Regions from separate parts of the Homo sapiens genome. Here region 2 is linked to region 1. The links are contacts of gene promoters, found by promoter capture Hi-C in blood cells and fetal thymus (Javierre and others, 2016). All regions are on one chromosome and are shown on one strand. Each heading gives the region's core, a stretch centred on a gene start or on the middle of the fragment in contact. The rest is flanking DNA. Distances are from core to core; before and after follow the strand shown. Region 1 holds the start of GPR135 (G protein-coupled receptor 135). Region 2 holds the start of ACTR10 (actin related protein 10).

Region 1 (7,826 bases), core at 2,655-5,154:
ACAGAATGGCCTCTTTCACAAGCCATGCCTTTCCTAAAACTTCCTGCCACCGAAAAGGTAGGGCTGGAATTCCTTTTCTTCCTTAAAGTCCTTCATGCCATCACCTTGTCACTTCCAATCTCTCAGATTTTCCCTTCACTCACCAGGTAGGTTTATTCTATATCACATTTATTTTTCAATGCCTTCCTTCAATTCTTCTTCTCAGGCAACACACTATTTTGCAACACGCTCACCTCCTTACTCTAAGATCTCTAACCCTCTGCCCTTTATTCACAACTGTACTTCTATTCTATGATGTCTTTTATAATTGAAGACTTTATCATTTCTCTCTAAATCCCAAAAGTGACTCGGTGCCAAAAAATACACAATTTTTTGCCTTTAACAGGCAAATACCGCAGACACCTGTTTTTGTTAGTCCAGCTGCATGAAGTCTGTATATGCTTTATAAAATAAGGGCTAGAGGGGAGGGATTATCTCATCTACTTTGTACTACATTGAGTGTAGCAAAATATATACAATTTACAAACTTCTGATTTGTGATGATACCCTGAGAAGCAGAAAAAATTAAAACATCTTTAGCTCTGACATGACTCATATATTTCCACCTTTGATTACAAAATAATGACATGTACCCACCTGTCAAACAAAGAAATACTTAAAAACATATTTAAATACTTTACAGGAAGAAAATGCTGGCTATTTCACATTGAAATCTTCATACGACAGCTAATGTCTTTTCATATCTACTGTAAATAACTTGTTCAATTAAGGCTATGAAATACTGAAGAAAAGGGGCAGGATGGAGGAAAAGAAAGGGAAAAATAATATTTAAAAAAATTCTGAGTAAATGATTCTGTGTATAGTCGTATTTAACATTAGAAAGTTCACATACGCTTTTGAATTATTGTAAAACCATCTTTTCTGCTAAGATAGAAATTTAAAAAGCATCTTTGATTTGCATATTTCTAAAGATATTTTCAGTTTGCTTGAAGTTCTTCTCCAACTTTATGCCTGTGTTTTAATACCGTTACATATAGTCCCACACCTATTCTCCCTTTAATAAATACATTATCTTCGACAAGTCATAGCTATAAAGCAACCATCAGCTATTTTAAAAAATACAAAATATACCAAATTTCTAAATGTAGGAGGGTATGATCTATTTGGAAAAGTCTACGCTAATTCCAAGAGGCTGCTTCTCAAAATAGTTTTAGAATTTCTCTTTGGAATCGTTTTCAGTTAGCTAAAAGCCACGTAGGAAACCCAACCTTGTTGTTTTATAGAGGTCTCATTTTAAAAAATAATAAAAATTTAAATAAAGTGGCATCACTCACCTTATTCAATCAACTTGACTTCAAATTACATTTTTGGCTATATCCAAAAATCAAATTTACCTCAAAAGACAAAAATTTTCTACAATGAAAATATTTTTTTAAATGTGAAAGCATTCTGAGAGCAGCATTCCAAAATTTATCAGAAATAAAAGTAACAGGTTAGAGTAAGGATAAAACTTCAAAGTTTTCCAAGGAAGATCATTTTGGAGGTATGACGCGGGTGGAAGGAATGTTAATTTTTACATATAATCTTGGAAAACATTTAAAAGACACATTTCTTTATGTTCATACTTCTATTTGTCCTTCAGATGGTTGAATTTTATCTAATAATAACCAGCTTTTCAAAATCCTAAAATGATTTTAAATGGGTTATGAATTAAAAATTTTCCACAAAGGTTATTAGGGGGTGGGGTGAGGAGGTGCACCAATGTGTGTAAGGATAAGACTTTTCCACTTGCAATCTAAGCACCCAAAGCATGTCAGAGGTGCAAGCTCTAGAAGCTAAAGTTTTGTTGGATGGTAGCGATTTAGAGGGGCTTTCAAGCAGCTCTGAAGGTCTCCATTCATTCCTGAAATTCTGTGTAGTTGAACAATACTGGTTGCATTCAATGTTTTGTTTGTTTCACAGTGTGGTCCTATAATATGAGCTTTTCAGTTATAGTGAATGTTATTTTTGTCATTTTTGGCACTTACAGTTCACAATGCTTGGTTATGTGGTTTAAGATTGTTTTAATTTTTGCATTTTACATTCCTTTTGGCACTTTTGAAGAAGGGACATTGTCTTTTATGTTGTTTGGGGAAAGTGGTAAGCCTCCCCCGTCTCTAGCTTTAAATGTTTGGCTTTATGAAATCCACAACTCTCCCCCAGAATCTTCCATCATTAAATAATGCGAGTGGAAATTTGCCTTCATAAGCTGGCCATTCCAACCGTCTTAGAGGCTGGTATCCCCAGCTTCGGATTTAGGCTGTTTGGTCACTGCCGTCACCGGCTCTGGTGGTCCCTCTCGGCAGAAAAGTACAACTGGATTTTTGCGGGCCCACATGGCCACGTCCCCTGCCACTCCGCTGGCCGGGTTGGAAGAGGACATCCTGTTGCAGGCCCCCAGCCGGTTGGCATAGCGGTTTCGAAGGCGACTGCGGCTTCTGGCTTGCAGACCCGGGCCCTGGCTGGGCAGGAAAGCGTCCACATTCCTAGTCCGGTAGCCCTCCTCGCGGTTGCGCCCTAGGAGCATCGAAATGTTGGGATTGCGGATGGCGTAGATGACAGGGTTGATGGCCCCATTGGCCCAGGTCAGCCAGACGGCCACCACGCTGAGGAGCGAGGGGGCCTGCATGGTCTGGGCCTGCCGGGCGGCGGCCAGCAGCACCAGGAAGCAGTAGGGCCCCCAGCAGCAGATGACGAAGACGATCATGATGAGGACGGTGGTGGCCGTGCGCACCTCGCTGAAGAAGCGCAGCACGCGCGCGTAGGTGTTCACCGGCCGCACGCGCACGTCCGACAGGCGCACCGTCTTGCAGATGTGGTAGTGGCAGAAGCACATGAGCAGGAAGGGCAGCAGGTAGCAGGCCACCACCAGCCCCACGCTGAAGGCCGCGCCCAGCTGCGCGGGGTCCGGGGAGGTCCGGTAGAGGCAGCCGTGGAAGCTCTGCGCCGCCGCGAGTTCCCGGGGCGCCCCGAGCAGCTCCCAGGGCAAGGAGAAGCCCAGGGCCGTCAGCCAGGCGCCCGCCAGCAGCTGCAGCGCGCGGCGGCGGCCGATCTTCTCCCGCGGCGGCCGCACGATAGCGCAGTAACGGTCCAACGAGATGAGCGCCACGCTGAGCGTGGACACGATGCCGAAGCACGAGCTGAAGAAGCGGCTGGCGGCGCAGAAGCCGCGCCAGGGCCCCGCGGCGGCGGCAGGCGCCGAACCCCCGGGCGGAGTGAAGAGGTCCAGGAAGGCGGCGGGCAGGCAGAGCAGCGCCGTGAGCAGATCCGATAGGGACAGCGACAGGATGAAGGCGTTGGTGACGGTGCGGAGCTGCCGGTGCTTCACAATCACCCCCATCACCGCGCAGTTGCCAAGGCTAGACAGCAGGAAGATGAGCAGGAGGACGAGCGCCTGGGCCGCCACTGCAGCTCCGTGCGACAGCAGCGGCGCCGCCTCCGGGCCTAGCGGCCGCCTCACCGCCGCCCCCGCCTCCCGCGCTGCCCCGGACCCGCCAAGGCCGCCGCCACCGGGAGCGGCAGCTGTGCCGCCTCCGCTTGCGTCGCTCAGGTTCCCCAGCGCCGCGGTCGCCACGGTGCTGAAGGAGAGCACGGCCGCCGTGGCCGCGGAGGAAGTCCCGCCAGGTGGGCCGGCCGCGGAGGGGGCGCCGGAGTGCTGGCTGCCCAGTAAGGCCATGCTCGCTGGTGGGCGGGGCGGCTGCGGCTCCTCCATGGGGCCCAGTGGCGGCCGCGGATCTCCTCATCCCGCACCGGGGGCGGCGGCCGCTAGGTCGGAGTGGTGGCTCGGGGCCGGGGGCTAGCGGCCGCCGCGGGGAGCTGGGCTCGGCCGGAGGGGTGGCGGTCGCTGGGGACCTGGCGGAGCCTTTGACGTGGGTTCCAGCGTTGCCGAGGGAACCGCGTGTTTACGCAGGAGCGCGGGGCGGGACGGCAGCCCAGTACCCGCTGCAAAGCCGACCCGCGACACCGCCACTCCGGAGGTTACCGGCCCGGGTGTTCGGGTTTCCGAGAGTGCCAGGTCGACCTCCTGAGGGACCAATGTCCGGCCAGATAAAGTGCCGACTGGCATGCAAACAAATGACCAGATTCAACGAAAGTTCACTCTTGCTCTCTTTTGTAGGGTACAAATGTTCTACAGGCAGGCCTTTTGGGGAGTGGTGGGGGGGGCACTCTGCTTCCTGTGGGTGCTTTTGGTATATACAGGTAGGAAAGGAATCTAGAAAGTGAAGTGAAAGAAAAATCCAGAAGTCTACATCCAGACATCTTAAACTTGAGAAGCAGACTAATTTAAACCAGTAATTCTCAAACTTGAGCTAACAGAATTCACATAGAGGGCGTGTTAAAATACAAGTGACGAGGTCTGAACCCCAGCGTTTCGAATATGTCTGGGGAAGTACCCAAGAATTTGTATCTCTAACGGGTTCGCGGGTGGTGATGATGATGCTGGTCCCAGGACCACACTTACAGAAGCACTGATGTCAAGAGTTTCATAAAATGCAGATTCCCAGGCTGACAGAATTACTAAGGATGGGCCCATGACTCTAAACCCCGTAGGTGATTCTGATACAGGTGCTCTGAGGAGCTAGGATAGTTCCTTTAGATGTTACTTCATTTCCAAGGGCCTGGACCTCAGGCCCCTACTGGCTGATAAATGGGGGGAGAGGGATTGGTGCCTTGCCCTGCTAGCAGCCTTCATCTGTTCTCAGGAATGGGGTATGTTTTGAGTCTAAGGTGCTGCCAGCCTGGCAATCACCACAGATGCAGCTCCAGGTACCTGGCTGGGAGATACGGGGAAAAGAAAGGCAGGGCTACCCAGGGAAGTTGCATCTCAAGTTTCTGGGCATGGCCTCTAATGGGGAAAAGTGTGATAAACCCTCAGGTTAACTAACCCTGGGCTCTTCGCTAAAGCAGTGGTTCACAGAGTATGGACATTGGACCAGCAGCATCAACATCCCCTGGAAACCTTGAGAAATACAAATTATCAGGCCTACAGTGCATAGGATACCCCTGATCTACTGAAACTCCTGTGGTGGGGCCCAGGCACCTATGTTTTAACAAGCCCTCCCAGTGATTCTGATGCACAAATTTGAGAAACACTGCTCTAAAGAATGACTAGTATATTTGTAGATCTTAGAATCAATGGTATTAGTATTGGAGTGCTTATTTCATTCAGAAAAAATATCCTACAGGAAATTTACAGTATAAATAGAAGAACGTTTAAGGTGGCAAACCAAAACTGGGTTTGTCAGCCTAAGCGTCATGGACTTTTGGGCCAGATAATTCTTTATTGCAGGGGCCATCTATACATTGTATGATGTTCAGCAGCATCCCTAGTTCCTACCTACGAGATGCCAGTAGCACCTCTCCCAGCTGTGACAACTAAAACTGTCTTCAGATATTGCCAAATATCCTCTTGGGAGCAGTCAATGCCAGCTTAATCTAGACTGATTTTGTCTTAATTTTGTCAATCAAAGCAAAAATATAATTATCATACATTAATTTATTTGGCAAACACAATCTTCTCAGATTGTGCTTAGTTTTAGGAAACAACATATAAGATAGGAAACCCAGCCCAAATAAGCTTAAGCCACCGGCCAACACAGTATATTACAGTGTGCTAAATATTGTCTTAAAAATATGTGAGTGAAATTATTTGTCTTCCTGACAAAGACTTTGTACAAGAGGTGACATTAGACTTTTTAAAAAAAGAAGAAAGGGAAAGAACATTTGATGAATGTGCAAAGTCTGGAGGTTAGTGTTGAAGTGAGCAGTGTCTGAATTCTAGGATATTGGAGATGGGGAGTGAAGAAGGAAATAAATGATCAAAGTTTATTGGGGCTACCTTATGATGGGCCTTGTAGGCCATGCTCTGGAGACTGAACTTCATCAGGGGAGGAGGGGCTAATAGCATAAGGGAGGGCCGTGAGCAAGTGCATGGTTCAGAAGGACCAGAAGGACTGCACTCTTCTGCTTCCTTCCTTCCTCATCTTTCTCAGTGTCCTCTCCTCTGCCAGTTCATCCTCTTCCACCTGCCTTTACATGCTGGAGTTCATCAAAGCCCTGTTCTCAGCTCCTCTGGACTCCCCCCTCGGCCCCATCTCACTCACATCCAGGACTTCAAAGATAATCTATATATTCATTACTCAAATTATGTCTGTGGCCCCAACCTACATGTCCTGCTACTTGGCATCTCTCTCCTTGATGTGCCAGTGGCACATCAAATGGGTGCATGATCTTCTTCCTACTTCCCCGGTAAAACTTGGTCTTCAATACTCTGTATCTCAGAATATGGTAGAACCATCCTTCTAGCTTTTAAGCCAAAAACTTAAGAGTTTTCCTTGATGAATCCCTCCTCCTTACCACCAGTCCACATCCAATTCATCAACCAAGACCTATGGATTTTAGTTGCGGACTATCTTTGCATCCATTCATCTCCTCCATCCTGAATCTTGGCTCTCATCCTCTCTTTGGACTACTGTTGTCACTGTTGTCCTAACCGGTCTTCCCACATCCAGTTCCTACATTGTAGGCAGCTAGGCATAATGCTCTTAAAAAAATTCTTCATGCCACTTACTTATTTAAACTCTTCTAATTAGGCCAGTGTAGTGGCATGTGCCTGTAGTCCCAGGTACTTAGGAAGCTGAGGAGGGAGGATCGTATGAGCCCAGTAGTTACAGGCCAGCCTGGGCAACATAGTGAGACCATGTCTCTTTTAAAAAAAATCCTATTGGCTTTCCCCATTTATTTTAGAATAAGGACCCCAATCCTTAATATTTCCTACAAGGCACTGCATGATTTGACCCTGCTTCCTCTCTAGTCTCATTCGGTACCACTTTCCTTCTTTTTTCTGTGTTCCTGCCACACTTGGCTTTTATGACTTCCTTAAACCTTCCATCTTAGGGTGTTTGCACTTGCTATCCCCTCTGCCTGGAAAGCTCCATCTTCTTCTTCCCTTCCCTAGCATCCCCATCTTCGCGTTAAGGTTAGTCCATGGGGGAAGCCTCCCTTGACTGATACCGTCCTTTCCCCACGTATTGGGCCATGTTCCCCTGTTAGTTTCACAGCACTCTGTATTTTCCATTGTAGCACATAACCATGGTCTATAATTTTTTGCGTGATTATCTAAGCATTACCTGCCTCCCACTCTATACTATATGAGGACCTAAACCTTGCCTGTTTATTTTATGAGATCCCCAGCACTTAGCACTCTAACAAACTGCTATACAAATGCCAACATACAAAAAAATATTTTTTGAGTAACTGTAAGAGGAGAATCTGGAATTTAGGAGACCACTTAAGGAGAGGCATTCTAACAGTCCAGGTGAAAAGTGAGAGTCTGAAGTGGACCTTTGCAGTGAAGAAGGAGAGGTCATGTATAGATTAGGGTAGGTAGTATATGGATTAGGATTCTCTGGGCGTAAGTAACACATGAGGACACTGGTTCACATAAGCAATATAGGAATTTACTGGAAGGACAGGGGAAGTTCCATTTACAAAAGGACAGTCTAACAGCAGCTCCAAGAAGAAGAGAAGTCAGAGCAGTCCTGTGGGTAGGGAGAGCAGAAACTGATGGGAGTGATCTCTTTAGGCCACCATTGGAACAGATCAACTTCAGTTTTCAGACCTTATGTCATTTCTCAAGATCTCAGGTCTGGGGGAAAAAGTCTTGACTGGTGTACCAGTTTCCCAGCAGTCCTAGCAAGACTACATGCAGGTAGTTTCCCAAAGAAAAAGGAGAATGCTGTTGATAAAAGAAGGGGAGGCCAGGCGCGGTGGCTCATGCCTGTAAT
Region 2 (7,826 bases), core at 1,933-4,432, 1.3 Mb before region 1:
ATCAAGTTAAGATGAAGTCATACTGGGTTAAGATGGACCCTGAGCCAGTAACTGATATCCTCAGAAGAAGAGGGAGGCCGGGCACAGAGGCTCATGCCTGTAATCCCAGCACTTTGGGAGGCCGAGGCGGGCGGGTCACTTGAAGTCAGGAGTCGAGACCAGCCTGGCCAACATGGCAAAATCCCATCTCTACTAAAAATACAAAAAATTAGCCAGGCATGGTGGCAGGTGCCTGTAATCCCAGCTACTTGGGAGGCTGAGGCAGGAGAATTGCTTGAACCTAGGTGGCAGAGGTTGCAGTGAGCTGAGATCGCGCCACTGCACTCCAGCCTGGGCGACAAGAGTGAAACTCCGTCTCAAAAAAAATAAAAATAAAAATAAACAAGAAGAGGGAAATTTGTTCAGCCGAATACAGAAAAAATAAAAAAGAAAACAATTAAGAAAAAAGGAGGGAAATCTGGACACAGAGACACACACAGAAGGAAAGTGATGTGAAGACACAGGGAGGAGTACATAATGTGAAAAATGCAGACACAGCGAAGAAGGCCAAGTGATGACAGAGGCAGAGATTGGAGTTATGTATCTACAAGCAAAGGCACATCAAAGATTGCCAGCAACCACCAGAAGCTAGGAAAAGGCAAGAAAGAAGGCCAGGCACGGTGGCTCATGCCTGTTATCTCAGCACTTTGGGAGGCTTAGGAAGGCGGATCACCGGAGCTCAGTAGTTTAAGACCAGCCTGGGCAACACGGTGAAACCCATCTCTACAAAAGATGTTAAAATTAGCCACGCAAGGTGGCACATGCCTGCAGTCCCAGCTACTTGGGAAGGTGAGGCAGGAGAATTGCTTGAGCCCAGTCTGGGGTTCAGTGAGCCAAGGTTGCACCACTGCACTCCAGCCTGGATGACAGAACGAGACTCTGTTAAAAAAAAAAAAAAAAAAAAAAAAAGCTGGGCGCGGTGTAATCCCAGCACTTCGAGAGGCCAAGGCAGGCAGATCACCTGAGGTTAGGAGTTCGAGACCAGCCTGGCCAACATGGTGAAACCCTATCTTTACTAAAAATCCAAAACAAACAAAAAAAAATAGTTGGGCGTGGTGGCAGGTGCCTGTAATCCCGGCTGCTCCAGAGGCTGAGGCAGAAGAATCACTTGAACCTGGTGGGGCGGAGGCTGCAGTGAGCTGAGATCGAACCTGGGTGACAGAGCGAGACTCCATCTCAAAAAAAGAAAAAAAAAAAAAGACAAGAAAGGATCCTCCTCAAGAGCCTTCAAAGAGGGCATGACCTTGCTCTTGCTGACACCTTGATTTCTGACTTCTCACCTCCAGAAGTGTGAAAGAATAAATTTTTTGTTTCCTTGAACCACCGTTTGTGGTACTTTGTTACGGCAGTCCCTAGCTAACAAATACAGCTGGTGAGCTGTCATGGAAAACATAGAATAGGTAATAACAAACTTCATCATTTCAATAGTTTCAGAAACATAATTTCAAATTGATCCTTACAAATACCTTGTGAAGCAGCAGAACAGTTTACAGATAAGGAAGTGGACGATCAGAGGTATTAGGGACTTGACAGAAAGTGGCAGAAACAGAATCTGAACTCAAGTAAGGGGTCCTATTCAAATAATCTGACTCTATTAAGCAAAAAATTTAATCTCTTCCCACGTTTCTTAAAGTTTTCTTCCCCGTCACAACTCCAACTTCATTCTCCTGTCTCCAGGAATTTGCTTTCAAGGAGGATCATTGATCAGTAATTTGGACTTAAACATGAATTTTACTAATATCACATTCCAAATTTCTGCATTGTTACAGCCTTAGTTTTTGTTATGGAAATAGCTTATCCCCAACTACCCCGCTAACTCTAGTTACCAACCATTAGAGTAGGGCCTTTTTTTTTTTTTTTTTTTTTTTTGAGAGACAGGCTCTCACTCTTGTTGTTGCCCAGGCTGGAGTGCAGCGGCACAATCCCGACTCACTGCCGCTTTAGACTTCTTGGGCTCAAGGGATCCTCCCGCTTCGGCCTCCCAAAGTGCTGGGATTACAGGTGTGATCCTGCGCTCGGACAGTTGGGACATCTTAATACAGTATAACCTCATCTTAACTTGATTACATCTGCCAAGACTCTATTTCCAAATAGGGTCACATTCTGAGGTTCCCAGTGGACAAGAATTTTGGGGGGGGGGGCATCATTCAACCCAGTACACCAGCTAAATGTTGCTAGTCCTCACCGATTTACCCTTGAACCTCTTTTCTTATTGCACAGCCTCTCCTTTGACAGTCTTTTCCACTCCTATGCATAGATACAGTTAGAGCTAATATTTGCAGGAAAAAAATATTTTCACAGAAAGCTGTGAAGTGACAAAGATGTAAACAGTAATGTAAATGTTAAAAGTAGTGGCAAAAACAGCAATTACTTTTGCACCAACCTAATAGGGGCCTTTGCTTCAATGTTTCTTCTATTAAACCATCCCGACCGCTCCTCTATGGACAGATTCAAGATTCACAGACGCTACTCTAGCTGCTTAATTCTGGAGTAAAATAAAAACTTTCAGAAAGACTACTAACTAAAGTATTGTCTGTACGTATTATTCTCTAAAGCATCATTAGCATAGGCTTTGCAATTAGGAAGTCTGTGGGTTTGTTCCTGGCTCTGCCGTGGGACATTGGGAAAGTTAATCTCTCTGAGCGTCGGTCCCCACAGATAAGAAAACACATATTCTTGTTATTTCTTGAGAAGATTAAATATTAGGCAAAACGCCTAGCACAGAATAGGGTCTCAGCATCTTCTGCCCCCCAAGAGCATGAATCAAAGGTTCGGAATTGCGTCGTCTCTCGGCTGCCCCTTGGCAGCCAGGTCCTCAGTGACCTCTTCACAGTGAGCTGAGACCGAACCTCTTCACAGCCGCGCGTGGGTGCGGCTTTGGGGCGTGGTGGGAGGGAAGGATAGGGAGGCCGGCTCCGCCCCCTCAGGGCGACCGGCGCGCCTGATCGCCGCGGCCTCCGCGCCCCCGCACTCGGATTCGCGCCCGCCAGCGCCTCTTTTCCCCTAGTCCTGGCGACGGCAGCACCTGCAAGGGTGGGTCCAACGCGGAATGAGGCACAGCCTGGGACAGCCCGGGCCCGGCGCGCCGCGGCCGCGCGAGGCCCCCGCCGTCGCCGACGCCCGAGCGCCGGAGCCCCGGCCCCGCCCCGCGAGCGCCGAGACTTGTTGGCCGCGGAGACTGCGACCCTCTTCTCTCAGTCTGCCTTACTACCATGCCGCTCTACGAGGGCCTGGGGAGCGGCGGGGAGAAGACGGCGGTCGTGATCGACCTGGGAGAGGCCTTTACCAAGTGAGTGGCCGTGACGCCAGCTGTGTTCGACCCGAGGGGAGGGCGGGTGGCAGAGCCCCAGGCACTGCCTGGGTCCTCATCGCCGACTCGCTGGGCAGCTCCGGGCCTCCCCTTTTCTTCAACCAGCGCCCTTGCAAATAACAGCTCTTATTATTTCCTCCCTGGGCGATGCGAATCCGAGGATCGGGGTCTGACTCCCAGAGAGGCCCAGAAAGCTTCTGTTGAATTGCCCTCGTCGCCGCCCCTTGTCATCACCCCAAACCCAACAAACCCTTTGGGATCATCTGTGTAGGGGATGACAACCGTGACCTAGACCCCGCTTACCCTGGGCTCCTCAGTTGAGGAAGGCAGCCAACCGAATGTAAATGCTCGATGACGAATTTCATCATAAAATATTGAACGGAGTTTATTTTGGTGCTGAAAATGGAAAGATGTTTAAGACAGGGCTATCGCTGCTCAAGAATTAGGGAGACTGGGCACATTAAGAGGTGAAACCCTATAGATAAGATTCTGGAAATCCTTTGTTGGCTCCCCTAAACTCGAAGGTTAGATTTGACATGTTTTAAACAAACCAACTTGTAAACAATAGAGAGGAGGTTCTCAACCTTTCGGATGGCATAGATCTCTTTAATGGCTGGATGAAAACCACAAATGCACAAATCTTAAGGTACTTATACACAGTTTCAGGGAATTGGCAGACAATCAATGTGGTCCTGGGACCCTAGATTAAGAGTCCTTGTGATGGGCTCAACAGAGAGGGAAGTAACAGGCAATTACATCATATATGTATTTATGAAAATGAAACATTTGAAAAATCTTTTTATATCTCTAGGCACTTCCTGACGTGTAGTAGGTATTTAATAACTATTTATTGACTAAGTGGTTAAAAGAGCCTATTTAAAAATTGGACCCCAGGAACTCCAGAATTGGATTAAACATAGTCCTTGGTTAATGACATTCTCTTATTGTTCTATGCGAGGCCCTTCCTTATTTATATTTTCTTATTAAAATTATTTTGAAAGCGTAATAAACAGTTCGAGGCTTCTAGTCAAAGATAATTATTTTGGCTGTACTTGGAAGAAATAAGCAAAAAGCTATATTTGAAAAAGACAGCAGGAGGATGATAAGATAAATGTATGAAGTAAAAAAAAGGAATTGAAGTCTAATGGCTTGCATTCTGAGATGTTTGAGGAGCACTGATGCAAGTAAACATGGAGACGGGAATAGGAGGAGATGGAGAGAATTATTTGGGAATACGAGGAGAGCAGTATCAAAAACTAGACAGGACAAGAAGACAGGATGTTAAGACTAAACTAGTATGATGATCATTTTTAGCAACGTTTTTAGCAAATTTTTGTTTTACTAACATGAAACAAAAATGGAAATACCTAAATACTCAAGAAAAGAGCATCGTTTTTAAAATAATGAAATATGTGGTTTTAAAAATAATACTGTAATTCCAGCAGTTTGGAAAGCTGAGGCGGGCTGACCACTTGAGCCCAGTAGTTCAAGACCAGCCTGGGCAACATGGGGAAACCCAGCTCTACACAAAATACAAAATTTAGCCGGCGGTAGTGTCGTGCCCGAAATCCTAGCACTTTGGGAGGCCAAGGGGGGAGGATCGCTTGAGCCTGGGAAGCGGAGGCTGCAGTGATCTGAGTTTGTGCCACTGCACTCCAGCCTGGGCGACAGAGCGAGACCCTGCCTCAAAAAAAAAAAAAAAAAAAGTGATAGCAATGAAGATTATGTTAATATGGGCAGAAGCTTACTGTATGAGTTAATTATGTATGAAGTGTGATTAAAACTATGTCAAATATATATGCATAATCATAAGAAGTAGACTGAAAGTGAATACACCAATATGGAAGCTAACAATATTAGAATGATGGAATTATGAGTGATACAGATGAATTATATGAATGAAGTCACATAATGTAGTACAGATTCAGAGTTGTAGATATGTCTTGCCTAAATTCTGCTAAAATTAACAACTAGGAAAAAAGTTGGCCAGGCGCGGTGGCCCACGCCTGTAATACCAGCACTTTGGGAGGCCGACGCGGGCGGGTCACGAGGTCAGGAGATCGAGACTATCCTGGCTAACACGGTGAAACCTCGTCTCTACTAAAAAAAAAAAAAAAAATTAGCCCTGCGTGGTGGCCGGCACCTGTAGTCCCAGCTACTCAGGAGCCTGAGGCAGGAGAATGGCGTGAACCCGGGAGGCGGAGCTTGCAGTGAGCCGAGATCGCGCCACTGCACTCCAGCCTGGGTGACAGAGCCAGACTCCATCTCAAAAAAAAAAAAGTAAATGCTGCCCTAAAATAATACATTTGTTTTTTTCAGCATCACGAATTTCATAGAATTTTTTTCTGTTAATACACAAGCATTAATAAATAGTATTATTAGTTTTGTGGAGTGATTTTTTTTGATCCCTTAAAATACATCAGGTATTTTCAAATGTTATTGTGGCCATTGTTTTGAAACAAATACAGAGAAAATTAGTTTCTGTGACAAATATTTAAAAGAATACTATAAGTTGTTTCAATTTTCCATTTATTTGCAGGTGTGGATTTGCTGGAGAAACTGGTCCAAGATGTATAATTCCTAGTGTGATAAAAAGAGCTGGGATGCCTAAGGTATTTAAAAAAAAATATTAGCAAAATAAATGCCATACTATAAAATGTTTTAAAATATGACTTCAAGTAAGATTGATTAAAACAGTACTAAAGGCCAGCCGTGGTGGCTCACGCCTGTAATCCCAACACTTTGGGTGGCTGAGGCGGGTGGATCACCTGAGATCAGGAGTTTGAGACCAGCCTGGACAACATGGTGAAACCCTGTCTCAACTAAAAATACAAAAATTAGCCGGGAGTGGTGGCAGGCACCTCTAATCCCAGCTCCTCAGGGGGCCGAGGCAGGAGAATTGCTTGAACCCGGGAGGCGGAGGTTGCAGTGAGCCAAAATCAAGCCATCGCACTCCAGCCTGGGGGGCAAGAGCAAGACTTCGTCTCAAAAAAAAAAAAAAAAAAAGAAACAAGAAACAGTACTAAATATATACTTTGTGGCTATATTTCCAAGGAAAAGTTTTTCTTTTTAAATCAACTTTATCAAGGTCTAATTTTGCACACCATAAGTATATCATGTTGTACAAGTACCACCACAATCCAGTTTTAGAATGTTTTCATCACCCCAGTAAAATCCCTAATACCCGTTTACAATTAATCCTCATTCCTATCCTCAGCCCATTAGGGTGTACCTTCTGTTTCTATAGATTTGTCTTTTCTGTACATTTTATGTAAATGGAATCATATATCAAGAGAAAAATTTTAACTTCAGTAAAATACTTTTATAAGTCTTATAACCACTGAATTATTTTATTATTTATAATATATCAGATATTTATTCCCTTATTTACAGTTTCAAAACCCAGAGAATTTTGAAAACAAACTTTCAAAAAGTTTCTTGCCACAGCTAATTTGGCAGATTAGAAATTACAACCAGTAGAAAGAATGATTTTGCATGTTATAAAATTCACTTGTTAAAAAATGAGATGTAGCTGTTACCACAGTAACATTATATATGCATTCCAGAAAATACCTTTGTTCTGCAAAATGGTACATTTTTAAAAAACAAAACAAAACAGGCTTATGGGAAAAATAAGCTTGAGGTAGTCCATATAAAACCTGTGTAACTTTGTAATCAGAGGACTAGCAAAAACAATAATTGATGCCTCCACAAAATTTAAATAGGATTGGCAGGCAGCTGAGTGTGGCTGGAGGCTGTCTTAGGGAATATTAAAAATAAAATTGTGGGCTGGGCAGATTACACGCCTGTAATCGCAGCACTTTGGGAGGCCGAGGCGGGCAGATCACGAGGTCAGGAGATCGAGACCATCCTGGCTAACACAGTGAAAACCCATCTCTACTAAAAAAAAAAAAAAAAATTAGCCAGGCATGGTGGCAGGCACTGGTATTCCCAGCTACTTGGGAGGCTGAGGCAGGAGAATGGCGTGAACTCGGGAGGCGAAGCTTGCAGTGAGCCGAGATTGCGCCACTGCACTCCAGCCTGGGCGACAGAGCGAGACTCCATCTCAAAAAAATAAAATAAAATAAAATCGTGGAGGTGGTGCGCACCTGTAGTCCCCAGCTACTTGGGAGGCCGAAGTGGGAGGATCACTTGAGCCCAGGAGGTTGAGGCTGCAGTGAGCCAAGATTGCACCACTGCATTCCACCATGGGCGACAGAGTGAGACCCTGTCTCAAAAATAAACAAATAAAAATAAAAGTCATGGATTGAAAATGTTAGCCAGTGGGTTCTGAGTCAGTGCAGATGGTAGCAAGCTCTGAGCCAGTGGGACTGTTATTAAGTAGCAACTAGGAGGAAATGCAACCCAACAGAGTCATGGATCCACTCTGAGGCACGAATTGCTGGTGTAGGGAGTTATTTACACTTTTCTTATGAATAGATCTGAAAGCATATCTACCTGTGTGATAACTGAGTTG

What was found. The method cuts DNA at HindIII sites, captures the fragments that hold promoters and counts their contacts. A CHiCAGO score of 5 or more calls a contact.
Region 2: the fragment with the promoter of ACTR10 here is called in contact with the fragment with the promoter of GPR135 in region 1 in 2 of 17 cell types (total CD8 T cells and non-activated CD4 T cells); the score reaches 7.3 in total CD8 T cells.

The regions. Positions count from the first base shown.
Region 1 is chr14:59,461,476-59,469,301 of GRCh38, forward strand. GPR135 (G protein-coupled receptor 135) reads right to left here and starts at 3,905. Exons shown (of 1, transcript NM_022571.6): 1 at 1-3,905. The coding sequence starts at 3,751. The coding sequence ends at 2,267. It also overlaps a transcript of L3HYPDH not described here. RefSeq lists a silencer at 3,436-3,975. The HindIII fragment of the contact is 8,985 bases long and covers 1-5,615 here.
Region 2 is chr14:58,196,967-58,204,792 of GRCh38, forward strand. ACTR10 (actin related protein 10) reads left to right here and starts at 3,183. Exons shown (of 13, transcript NM_018477.3): 1 at 3,183-3,328; 2 at 5,889-5,961. The coding sequence starts at 3,252. RefSeq lists enhancers at 2,626-2,755, 3,376-3,565 and a silencer at 2,826-3,215. The HindIII fragment of the contact is 4,366 bases long and covers 1-3,541 here.